3 separate regions of the Homo sapiens genome follow, and all the other regions are linked to region 1. Evidence: promoter capture Hi-C in 16 types of primary human blood cells and fetal thymus (Javierre and others, 2016). All regions are on one chromosome and are shown on one strand. The core of a region is centred on a gene start or on the middle of the fragment in contact, and the rest is flanking DNA. Distances in the headings are between cores, read along the strand shown. Region 1 holds the start of SESTD1 (SEC14 and spectrin domain containing 1). Region 2 overlaps LINC01934 (long intergenic non-protein coding RNA 1934). Region 3 holds the start of ITPRID2 (ITPR interacting domain containing 2).

Evidence for each region. Contacts are between HindIII fragments. The CHiCAGO score rates a contact against its expected background, and 5 or more counts as called.
Region 2: a fragment that was not itself captured here is called in contact with the fragment with the promoter of SESTD1 in region 1 in 1 of 17 cell types (M0 macrophages); the score reaches 5.1 in M0 macrophages.
Region 3: a contact is called between the fragment with the promoter of ITPRID2 here and the fragment with the promoter of SESTD1 in region 1, in 1 of 17 cell types (total B cells). The highest score is 6.1, in total B cells.

Annotation. Positions count from the first base shown.
Region 1 is chr2:179,262,109-179,266,362 of GRCh38, reverse strand. SESTD1 (SEC14 and spectrin domain containing 1) reads left to right here and starts at 1,531. Exons shown (of 18, transcript NM_178123.5): 1 at 1,531-1,864. RefSeq lists silencers at 1,430-2,049, 2,060-2,129, 2,238-2,401 and an enhancer at 2,730-2,799. The HindIII fragment of the contact is 5,018 bases long and covers 1-3,147 here.
Region 2 is chr2:181,393,773-181,397,810 of GRCh38, reverse strand. All of the region lies in intron 4 of LINC01934 (long intergenic non-protein coding RNA 1934), which reads right to left. Among named protein-coding and RNA genes, the nearest start is that of ITGA4, 62 kb to the left of the region's middle. The HindIII fragment of the contact is 235 bases long and covers 2,491-2,725 here.
Region 3 is chr2:181,889,784-181,894,236 of GRCh38, reverse strand. ITPRID2 (ITPR interacting domain containing 2) reads right to left here and starts at 2,507. Exons shown (of 18, transcript NM_001130445.3): 1 at 1,960-2,507; 2 at 1,577-1,622. The coding sequence starts at 2,170. RefSeq lists silencers at 1,871-2,010, 2,301-2,630. The HindIII fragment of the contact is 2,528 bases long and covers 360-2,887 here.

The DNA.
Region 1 (4,254 bases), core at 282-2,781:
ACTTCCCTGTATTTTCTTTTCGTTGAGTAGATGCTCAACATCTATTTGTTGGGATGGAAAATTATTTCAACGCTTCAGCAAACAGTTAAAGAGAACCTTTTTTGTGCTGAGCACTGTGCTATGTTCTGGGGAGCAAAAAAAATGAACTAGACAAAATCCCTGTCCTTTTAAGGAACACACAGTCTAGGAAGAAAAGGCCACCAAGCAAAGCAACAGGAAAAAAGCAAGTATTAAAGATTATCATAGGGAATACTGTAGATAGACGATTTTATGAAAGCAGAGAGAAAAAGAGTATTTAATTCATTGTAAATGTGTGGGGTAAGGATACAGATGTGGTGAAAGGAGATGATGTCAGGGAAGATTCCAAGGAGGAAGGGATGCATTATCTTCATTATCTTGAAGGACAATAGGAGTTCAACTGGTTAAATGAGGGATGGATTTCAGGTGGGGGAAAACTACAAGGGCACAAAGACAAAGTCTGTTGAATTTGTGTGATACGTAGATATATTAGGAGTTGAAGCTGGAGCCAAGGAGGTCAATAGATCAGATTTTAAATGGCTTTGTAAACCATGGTAATGAGTTTGAACCTGATTCAACCAGGTGGAGAGACTTTGAATGATTTTAAAGAGGGACGTTTCATGCTTAGCTCTGTCTTTTTGGAGCATTCTCTCTGGCAGTTATATGGAACTGAAGCAGCAGTGAAGTTAAAGGCTTGACCTAGAGTGGCAAAGAGGTGGAAGTCATGGAGACAGACTGATATTCACAGAATTAAGAGGAAGAATTAATCCACGGGATTTTAAGTCAGAAAACTTTAGTGGAGAGAAATTTGGTTGCTTAGTTGTTGGAATAGGAAGATTTTATCAACGGAATTAGGTGATACTGAAGTGAGTGGCTGAGTGAATAATATGGAAGTCTTGAAATTGGGACCACACAGCTGCTCTGATCTGGTGTGAATTTGCTGATGACTCTTTTGAACTGAATTCAGGAAATGACATACAAATGATTTGCGCAATAAAATGAAAACAAGGACTCTTAAGTCAGTATACTTGGAGAAAAATAACTAGGTTGGTAAAAATGGGGAAGTAGCCATTATCAGGGAGCCCCATTGTGGATTAATTTTGGACTGTCCAGTGGAAAGATCCTCAAAGCAAAACAAATGCCCTGAATCCAGCCCTTCCTCACCGCAACCCTTTCCCTTTCATCTGCCTTCATCCTTCAGCCACACCACCGCTTGGCAGTGAGTACTTGGGAGCAGCTCTTGGAGACTTTGTACTCGAACCTTCGAACTCCAGCATGAGGCCAGAGGAAATAAATGACCTGCCAGGGTGTCAAGTAACGGACCCTCTCTTAAGCCCAGACTTCTGACTCCAGATCTAGGTACCCTTCCACTCTCCAAGACTGCCTCCCGCCTGGGGAGCCTGGGCCTCGGCTAGGGGTGGGGACGGCAGGGTCCGTCCGGAGCGCCAGAGTCCCACTCGCGCCCAGCCCTCAGCCCCAGGCCCGGTTGGACGCCCCGCCCCGCCCCGCCTCCTTCCTCCTTCCCGCGCCGGGCGGGTTGCTGTACCGCCGTCACCCGGGCGCGCGCGGGGTCGCGCGGACGCGGCTCGGGCCGCGGGTGCCGAGAGGTCGCCGGGCCACCCGCACCCCCGCTCCCCGCCTGACGCACGGAGGGGCCGGGACGCGATTTGCCGCGAGTGACTGGAGCCGCAGCCGTCGCCGCTGCTGCCGCCGCCGCCCGGGCCCGCTCCGCCCCCAGCCCGCCTTCCTCCCGCCGCGCCCTCCGCCTCCGCCCGCACCTCGCTAGCGTTCCCCTGTCTTCCCCAACGCCCCGGAGCCGCCGGCCGCTAGCGTCAGCGCCAGCCAGGTGAGTGTGGCCGCCGCTCGGCCCGGGCGGGAGAAGCGCGCAGGCCCCGCGGCCGGGTGGCCGGCTTGGGCCGGTGCAGTCGGCGGCGGCGGCGGTAGCGGGCCCGGCTTTCTTCCCCTGCGCGGGCCGCGGGGCGGAGGGGCTACGCAGTGAAGGAGGGGCGCCCCCGCCCCGCCACCGCCTCTGCTCCCAACGCCCCGACCGCCCCCACCGCCTTGCCGCCACAGACAAAGCGCCGGAGGTGGGAGCCCTGCGGGCCGCCTTTGCCTCCGCGCCGTCTGCCGGGTGCGGCCGCGGCCCGCAGAGACCGGGCCGCGCGCTTTTCCGTTCCTGAGCGCCCTTGTTCATTTCTGGGTGAAAGGGACCCGAATTGTGCAACAGGTTTGGGCGTTAGTCCTTATTTTCCAGCGGGTCTCTTTTGCCAGCGTGCAGGAACCAGATGTGGCTCCCTGCTCTCGGGCGAGTCCCGCGTCCAGCGCCCGCGACTGGCTCCTTTGTGTGACCGGTGACCGGCCCTGTCGGGTGGGTGGAGGACACGGGCTCGAGGCCCCAGGGCTGCGCCGAGGCTCCTGGACGCCTCCTCAGGTCGCGGGGCTTGGCTTCCACGGGCCTGCCAGAGGTTAACATCCCTCCAGCGTTTGGGAGAGTCACAAAGGGGAGGAGAGAGAGGGTTGGCCAGGGTCTGTGGTTGTGTTTATTTTTCTATTTTAGGTAGACTCATATTAGAAAAGAGCCGCAGTCTGACCAGCTCTTGAGGGTACGGGTGGGATTTCACCCTGGGATGCACGGTTTGGACTTGGCTGTTGCTCTGACAGCCCCCGTGGTTTTCTTGGTGCTTTGACATCTTTCTCTTACACACAGACATCGCGGGAGAAGTTGGGAGTGCTGCCGAGGGAGTAACTAGATAGCAGCTGTTTGACAGGTCGTCTCTTACTTCACGTTTTGCTTGTGTCAAGCATGCCCACTATGTATCCCAGCATAGCTTGGCAAACCGTCAAATTTAAATTGCCACTCAAAATCCTAATCCTTATACATACCTACATACACAGACACACATATATCTATATACTTTTTCTGTTTTGGCTGGCTAAATCTTATTAATGTGAGAATTTTTCCTCCCAAGGAAGAATGCATAATAAGGTACAATTTATCTTTGGTTACATACCTTGGTTAAGTTATGCCAATACCTAGCTGGTTTCATTGGTATGCTATTTTAGTTTAACAATACTAATTCCTTTAGCTTTGAGCAGTAAAATACGTCTTTGTTCTAGGACCAGGAAGCTTTTATACGTAATACTTTGCCCCATGACTAAATACGTGAAAAAATTCCCCAAGGACCTAGAAAGCATTTCACAACTCTATAGGCTGTTTTTATGTTCCAAATTCCAGGAAATCGTTTTGTTGAATATTTATTCAAACATTCTGGACTAAATTTAACCTTAAAAATTGGGCCCACTCTAGTTTTTCCCCAGCATTAGAAAAATGAATTGATTGCATTTACCAAACATTTTAGCCCCTGTGAATAAGAATTGAATGGAATAATTGATGTAAGAGATTAGGAGCTAGTGATGGACTAGGAATCTGACAACAGAATGCAGAATGTAGAAAGTTGTAAGTAGAGGTCACAAAGTTGCATCTACTTGGGTTTTAATTCATTGCTAGGCATTTAATGACATTTTAAACAGGTAATCTACTAATGATATATCTGAAAATGAAATGTCCAATAATTAAGAAAACAAAGTATTGCATTTTGACCTTTTTAAAAAATGTATTTTTATAAGGACTTGTTGAAGCTTTTCCACTCTCTAAAAATGAACTTGGTATTAATGACATTTCTTTTGAAAAAATGAAATTGTACCAAACTAATCCGATTTTTAGAAAGTTTCTCTGTTATAGTAGTTTTACTTTACTAAAAATACCATTCATCTGTATAGTAGCTAACTTCAAAGATCTTTTAAAGCTGTTACAAGCAACATGAGCAACCTCTTGAGGAAAGTAGAATATTTACTAATAAAAAGTAGCAAGCAGAGAAGTGAGCCATGATTGGACCACTGCATTCCATCCTGGGTGACAGCCAGACTTTGTCTCAAAAGAAAAAAAAGCAGAGACTTAAATTTTTATAATAGTTTTCTTTGAGATATAATTCATATGCCATAGAATTCACTTTTTTAAAGTATGCAATTCAGTAGTTTTAATATATTCACAAAATTATGCAAATGTCGGCACTAATCCAAGAACGTTATTACCCTAAAAAGAACCTTGTACCTGGTAGCTTTTGTTACTATTCCCCCTTCCCCATATTTGACAACCACTAATTTACTTTATGTCTCTATGGATTTGCCTATTTTGGACATTGCATGTGAATAGAATCATAATATGTGGCCTTTAGT
Region 2 (4,038 bases), core at 1,359-3,858, 2.1 Mb before region 1:
TATCTAATTTTGTGGGTACTGTAAACCCCATGGTATCATTCCTTGATTCTTGCTCAGTAATCATATTTATTAGTGCCCACATTGCAAGTAACTCAGATGAAGGCAATTCTTGGTAGATATGTAAATGAAATACACCAGGAAGTCTAACTTCCAGCTCTGGTTCAAAATCTCTAAATATGAATTGGGTGAGTCTTGTCATTCTTTAGATGCCATCTGTAAAGAAGAGGGCTTGAGGTACGTGACTTTAGCTTGATAGGCTTAGAGCCTCTGTGGTGGCGCTGGCCACTCAGTATGCCCACATATTCCCGTGGGCACATGTTCATCTGGCCACGTTTGGCTCTGTATTCCTTCTTGTTGGCTCTTTTACTTATTGTCTTCAGTCATGCCTGTTCCTCTTTCTCCCTCTAAAGTTCCAGCAGGCAAAAGGAGGCATGATAGGGATTTGCTACCTCTTGATGAGAATTATGCTCTTCTAGCTTCCTCAGAGAGTAGACTTGTAAAAGATCTTCCAGGAAAGTAGTTGCCCAGCCAACTCTTATTTCCATATCATGTCTTTCTGGAATATTTTTTTCTTAATTGTTTGTTTATTTATTGCTTCTAGGTCTTCCCCGCCATAATGTACTCCCCATGAAAAGAGTCATCTGTGTGCCTTGCTCCCTGTTTCAGCCTGAGAACCTAGACTTTGTCAGACAAAATAATATTTGTTGTTGTTTATATCAAGTTATACGCTCAATGTACTAAATTAATTGAAGCAAAGTCTTAAGAAAATCTGGCTTTTGAGGAAAGTATGCCCCAGAGACATCAGAACTATTTAGAAATAGCAGCAGTTCAGAAAACACTTAATGTAGTCACATTAAATTGTCCCCGGTGTGATATGAGGCAGAAAATCAGAAAGAAAGAAACAATTCCTAGACAGGAGTGTCTAGTAAACCTCTAAATAGTTCACAGCTGTGTGGCATGTGGTGCAACTGGATAAACAAACTTAACAAGCACATTTGGGTTGGAGAATTCTTCTGGCTATAATTGTACTTTACATCACTTTCTGTGGTCAGGCACAAGGTAAAAATTTTAGGGGTTTTATTCTTAATGACCATGCCATCTTAGGTTATGGAAATTCCTCATTAATTTGGGTTCCGTAAATATGGCCTTCATATCTAAAACTGTTTTGTTTTTAAAGTAGAAGCTGTTTTTGAGAAGAATATTAAATGAAAGAGAGGGAATATAAATGAAATTTTAAAAAAATCAGAATTCATGACTTAAGGACTATTTCTACATTGTAATTAGTAATTTAACGGACTCTTTTTCAATTTCAGTAATTAATTATGCCTCTGAATTCAACTGGTATTTTGAAACCACAATTGCTTATTTATTAACTAAAAAGTCGTTTGAGGCCATTACGCAAGGGAATACAAATTTAAAAGATTAAAAGGATTGACAAAAGCTCAATTATTATACCCCTTTTACATAAACCTAAAATTTAAGGTATGACTCACCAAAAGACTATGTTTCAGTGAAGCTTTGCTTTTCTATATGAAAAATTATCCTGAAATACTTATAAAATGAATGTTAAAGTGAAATTGTTTTGAGGCTTGCTAGTTGATCTAAAATATGTCACAAATTATGACTTTGCTATTGTATATGCTTAGCAAATTCTCTTGATACAAGCTGAGAAGACATGCAAACCACAATTTTATAAAAGAGGAAACTGAGACAACAAAGATTAAGTAATTTTCTCAAGATCACATGACCAGTAGCTGGAGGAGTTGGAAATTAGATACAGATCCAGCGACCTCAGAGCCTGGGTTATTGCTTGCCCCATGGAGTCTTTTTGGGTCACTTTTGGCAAATCCAAAAGTGATCATCTAGAACTTCTCTGGACTCCTTCTCATGCAAATCTTCCTGATACCTGACACAGTGTGGCACAATGTGCATCAGATGGATAAGCAAAGGAATTGTTACGCTTCTCAAAGCCTATCCTGACTCAGGGTAGGTCAGGCAAGAAAAACAATTTATCTGTCATGTGTAGACACTATTTCAAGTGGCCCATAAATGGCTCTAGGACATTGAAAGAGGGATCTAAATGAAAAAAAACATTACTCTTTGTGTGACAAAAAAGATAAGAAATATTCAATGGTGGAATCACACTGAAGAATCTCTATCCCCCAAGATCCAATTAAAGTCCCACCTCCTCAACAAAGCCTTTCCTGTTAGACTATGTCATTGTTTTCTTCTCTAGTTTCAAATTATATTTATGGTCTGTTAGTGTTCATTTGTAACGTTTTGTCATACATAAGCTTGTTTAACTTTTTCAAGTGTTTATGAATTGTCTGCTGAAAAAACCAAGCTTCTTGAGGAACGTACTCTGTCTTATCTTCCTCTTTATCATCCTAGTATTTGCTTAGTGGTTGGTTTATTGAAAACCACCCAAAGGAAGTTTGAATTGAACTGAAATTATAAAATAATACGAGTAGTAAATGATTATGAAAAGCTTTGTAGGGACCGTCATGGTAGAGTTCATGAGCTATACTGTTTCCCTTTATGAGTACAACTGAAGAAGAACCAAAGTTGGAGCCTGTATCAGTCAAGGTCAGGGCAGGAAACATAAGGCTTTCTCACAGAAGTGATGGGAGACATTTTAATGAAGAGAACATTTACGGAGGGTGGCAGGATTGTGGAAACCAGCAAAGAATGGTGAAGCAGCTCAGGGTAGCAACTGTGAAAAGCTTTTACCCCCTCAAGACCTGCAGGGGTGAAGGTATGGCAATGTTACAGCCAGACGACAGTTAGGTAGCAGGAAATGGACCAACTAACAGAGCTAAGATTGTTCAATGTACTCAATATCAAAACTTGCCAGCAGTGGTAGTAGGGTTAGAGACACACATCTATCTGTTTGTCTCTCTGTCTGTGTGTCTCTCTCCACTTCTGCTCTCTGATATCTACCTGGTCCCTGTCATTGAATGAAACCAACTGGAAGTAAAAGTGCAAGGAAGATCAGATGGTGCAGTCTATATAAGTCCTCCTGCTGGGTATAGAGCAATGTGGTGATGCAATTACATAATTTGTTCCACATACAGCTAAGGTTTTTTACATAATTTGTTCCACATACAGCTAAGGTTTTTCTGAAAATCACCTTATATTATTTTATTGATTTTACATTTTATTAAGTTGCTATATTTTAAACCATCAGTCTAACAATAGTAAAAATTAGAAGTTAATCTTATTTTAATATATGATTATTAATATTTGCATTTACTTCTTAGAAATCACAACTACATATTTAGATTTTAAAAAATATATGGGAAAATACATAAAATATTCTCAAGAAAAAAATGCTGTTTATGAGACATGTAGAAGTGTAATAGTACACTCATGGGCAGACTTAATAGCATTGTTAACACCCCCAAACTAGCAGGAAACCACAATAACTTTGAGAAAGAGGCTGAAGACACATACCCCCTGCTATAAATAAAAAAATAAATTTTTGAAATGCTCCACAGGATCAATGGTCCTTAACTTTTTTTTTTTTTTTTTTTTTAGCACTCCTTGTTCACATGCTAAACCAGGTACCGATTTTGACATCATAGATGCAGTGCAGATGTAACCACACTGTGCCTCCCCAAAAGCCAAATTTCCCACTTTAATTTTTTTTTTGTTTTTTTTTTTTGAGACAGAGCCTCGCTCTGTTGCCCAGGCTGGAGTGCAGTGGCGTGATCTCGGCTCGCTGCAAGCTCTGCCGCCCAGGTTCACGCCATTCTCCTACCTCAGCCGCCCTAGTAGCTGGGACTGCAGGCGTCCGCCACAATACCTGGCTAATTTTTTTGTATTTTTAGTAGAGACGGGGTTTCATCCTGTTAGCCAGGATGGTCTCGATCTCCTGACCTCGTGATCCGCCTGCCTCGGCCTCCCAAAGTGCTGGGATTACAGGTGTGAGCCACCGTGCCCAGCCCCATTTTAATTTTCTATTACAAGAATTTAACCATTTTTACTCTCATGTAAAGATTGGCTACAATGATGTTAACTTTCACTTTCATTTTGGTA
Region 3 (4,453 bases), core at 1,258-3,757, 2.6 Mb before region 1:
TACTGTCTAATTGATAGGATCTCTTATACAATCTTAAATCCTATATGTCATTAAACTATAGTGTGATTCTTCTCTTGTTCTTAATTTTTAAAATTCTTTTGAATATGCACTTGAATTTAAACAATAAAACATTATAAATGTATTTGTAATGCTAAGCCTATTTTAAGAAACCTAAAGTAAGCCAATACTGTACTTAGGACTGTATTTAAATAAAGAGTCAGATTGGAGGCTTTAAAGGACTTAAGTAAAAGTTACAAAACAACTTCTCAAACACATTTCTAAGTGGAAACCTGAAAGATACTAGTTTTATCAGATCTCACCCAAAAGGTCTTGAACATGTACATTCAAAATTTCAAGCTTTTACATTATAGACTATTTTAGTATTTAACAATTAAATGAACCAATAGCACATTAATACAATTTCTTGATCCATACTTTGAGTGAAGTATCTAATATCTAAGGCTTATCTGAAAACTGGGAGATTGATTTACAGCTAGATTGTAAATCTGGGGTCCAAGGACTTCAAGCAGTGTATTTGCCTCTGTGCATCTTTAAACAGAAGTTATTCCATATATGTCATCATATTTCAGAAGGGTCTATGACACTTCCAATAAAGGGTACGAGTTCTGTAATAAAGAGTGTTCAATAAGGTTCCAGTCGATTCATCAAAACAAGGCATTAATATCATGGTAGCCAATATCTTGTCTGTCTTTAGAGGAGGCAAACTGGCATATGAATCACTTTCCACAACAAAACAAAACAAACTACCCTAACTCTAATATTTGAACAAAATATTAAGAAAATCTAAATTGAGAAAGCAAAAATATGCTCGAAAGCAAACACCAACAAAAGTTTAAAGGCTACATTCCTGATTTTACAACTAGCAAAGTGGAATAAGAAACAAGTACATTTTGCTGTAGTCAGATTTACGTGCAACATGATTCATCTCCTCTGTATTTTATCAAACATTTTTGTACCAGTTGCCAAAGCATGTAATTAAACAGATTTATGCAGTCTGAATGCTTTTAAAAGTTCTATTCCCTGAGAATTCCAGTGCCATCTGACAATTCCATGTTCAAGAAGTAAACTATAAGTACAAAGTTAGCTAGTTTTAATAGCTCCCCAAACAGAAACAAAATTAAAGCCCATTTAGTGTAGTTAGGTAAATTAAACTCGTCTAAAACACATTTGAAAGGAAAATGATTCCGTGCCAGTTGTACAGATGCCAAAACTAAAGCAAAACAAAATATCCTGTTCGAGATGTGAGAATTCTTTCAAATAAAAACAGAACAAATATGGCATGATTATCTGTTCTGGATTTCTGATCTCTGATGCTAACACGATGCGTGAGTAGCTCAAGTCCTAACTGTAAAGTCAACACGGTCACCAAATAATCAGCGGTCACAGCACTTCCATTTCTAATCGCTTAGAGGAGGAAGCTATCCGCCGGCTCACTTTCCGGTTTGTAGCTTACAACGGTCGCGGGACCCACAGGGACGCGGCCCGAGTGGCTCTGCTCCGGCGTCCCGTCCGCACGGATCTCCCCCGGGACGCGGGCGGACCAGGGAGCACTCACCGGCAGTCCTTGAGCCATATCGCGATCTTCTCGTTGGGCACGTTTCCTGGGGGTAGAGAGAGGGGACAGCACGTTACCACCCAGGAGCACTACGACGGCGGAGTCACCCTGGACCCTCCCAAGTAGGAAAATCTACCACGGCAAATGCAGCCTAAGCGACACGTCTCAGTGTCCCTTGGCAGGGAAATCGGATGGCACCCAGTTGTCTGTGTTGACGCTGGGGGCGCCTCGTTCAGCGCGCGCGTTTGAAGGTCGGAAGTGTCCCCTCTCCCCTCGGCCTACCGTGCCCGAGGCTCTCCCAGAACTCGTGGCAGGCGCCCAGGGCGCACGAGACTCTCCCCAGCCCACCAGCCTCCCCCCGGAGCCCGGCCGGGAGCACCGACCTCTTCCCCCCGCTGCCGGCAGCTGCGCGCCGGGGAGGTCCTCCTCCTCGTCCTCCTCCTCGTCCTGCGTCGTCGCTTCTGTGGACAGATCCTCCGTCTCCGACGCTTGCCAGGAGCTGCGGCACTTGGCCCAGGCCTTCCTCCTGCGACTCGCCACTTGCCACTCCAGTTCCTCCTCCGCCTCCGCCGACGACGACAGGGGCCGGTCCATGGCCGCACTGGGGGCTCCGCTACCCCAGCCGGACCCTGCGCGAGACAAGGCGGCGGCAGGGACCCCCGCCCTTGCTGTCAGCGCCCGGCCGGGCAGGGGGCCCCGGGGAGCTGAAGCGGGCGCCGGAGGAGGAGGAGGAGGAGGAGGGGACAGGGAGGGAGGGAGGGAAGGAAGGGGAGGGAAGGGGCGGAGGGCCGGCGCTTCACATGAAGGCGGCCGGGCGCGCGCGGGAGCGCTAGTGGCCCGAGGGAGCGCGGCTGGGAGCCGAGCGCCCGCCCGGCCCCTGCTCCCCACCCCCTGCCTGACGCGCCCGGAGCAGGCCGGCCGCTGCGCGTCTGCGCGCCTTCCCTCGGCGGCGGCCCACGCCCCCTTCCGGCCGGGGCCGCGCGGGGCGCGGTAGGGCGGGGCGCGCCCGGCGCGACGCGGAGCAGGCCAGCCCCCGACTACTGCCCGCGGAATGGGCAAGATTAGTTTGTTAATAATCTTTCCTCCTCTCCTCCTCCTCCTCCCTCACCTAAAAATAGAACGTAAGTGGGGAGGCCAAGTCTCACAAAACATCCCCCGCGAGAAAACAAGTGTCTGCTTGGGCACCCTGAAACATACACTTGAAAGAGTCGCCTGAATATAGACTCTTTAGTGTCCAAGGAATTGGGGTAAGGACGGAAAGAGGTGCTTGATTGGTGTTGCCAAAATGTAAAAACTGCAAAAGACTAAGCTTCCTGGAGTGCTACTTTCATACTTAAAGTTATTTATCGTGTTTATGTTATGAATGAAAATGAATTGTGAAAGGATATTTAATCTGGAAATTTCACATTGAAGTTGGACTTTGGTGAGGGAGAATAGAGGAAACAATTGGGACAATGTGGAGATAGTTGCTTGGATTTTGGTGAGACAGCATGATACAAGAAACAAATGATGTCAGGGTTCAAAACTTTTTAAAGCCAGCTTTGGCATTCCGTTTTGTTATGTTTAAATTCTCATTAGCAAAAATACTCAAATTCTATCCAAAACCAGACACAATGTGACAGACCTATCAAGCAGCATTGTTCCCCTAAATGTTACATCTGAACTATACATATAAGTAAGGCTTCCAATATTTTATTGTACTTGGCTATGCTCTGAAGAACAAGTTAGAACACTTTTTAAAATCTTAACGTGATTGAAAAGAATATTTTGCGTAGACAAAATATTTTAAGGAAGGAATTATTTTTCATTTGAAATTAAAATCCAGAGCATAGTAAAATTCCTAATGGAAGCATTCGAATTACAAGGTAATTAAGTGCATTGTCATTGATAGCTACAGGAAACCATAACTTTTGGAGAATTTGGAATGAAGAATGCTCTGGAGATGAAATAGTGCCTAGTTTTTGTCCAGGCATTTACACATAAGTCATAGACTACTAAAATAGCACACTGATTTTCCTGCCTTCATTCTTTCCTATCTCCTTTCTAGCGCATTGCTCTAGATTTACAATTCCAAGACATCTTCTAATGGTTTACTAATATCCCCAAGATCAAATCCAAAATCCAGACTAGCTTTCCAGAACCATCATAATATTCTCCTGAGTCTCATCTATGTACTGCCAAATGTCAGGGGAGTTAGAACAGTGATATTAATATCTCTATGGCTTGAAATTTCACTACTAGAAAATCTTTTCTTTGAACCTATAAGACTTTCTCAGCCTTCAAGGGTCCTGTAGTAGGATGCAGCTAACAGTTTAATGGCTCTCCAAAATAGGTCAGAGTCTCGCTGCCTGTGTGGAAGATGAAAAAGAGAATGAATAAAGAAGGTACCTAAGAAGAAGCATTGAAAGGGCTGGTCAAGTGCCACAAAATATGCTGCCTTCAAAGTTTTATCCAGGGTTCTTACGTATCCACCCTGTTCCTCTGCTGCTCCCAGCTTCAATTCTATCATATCTAAGTGCTGTTGCCTACTCTGTCTTTGCTAATTAATTCATTCCTGTTCTTTCTGTCCACTACCTTCATGACTTTCAAAATCTAGCTAAGCCAGAACTTTTTGACTCCACCATTCCACCACTCCTGATCACACCCCTCCCACAGGGATCTGATATACAACAGCATGTCTATGTCATTTATTTGGGGACTGGATTGTAGAGTAAATAATATGACTGGCCCTGGAAGGTATGTTTGGCTTACTAGCCAGATTGTAAATTGTGAGAGATGATAGAACATTCTTCAGTATTCTTGCACCCCTTACACTTTTAAATGCTGATCCCACAAGGGATAATGGGTCTTCTTGAGGTAGTTTCTGTTTTCTGTGTT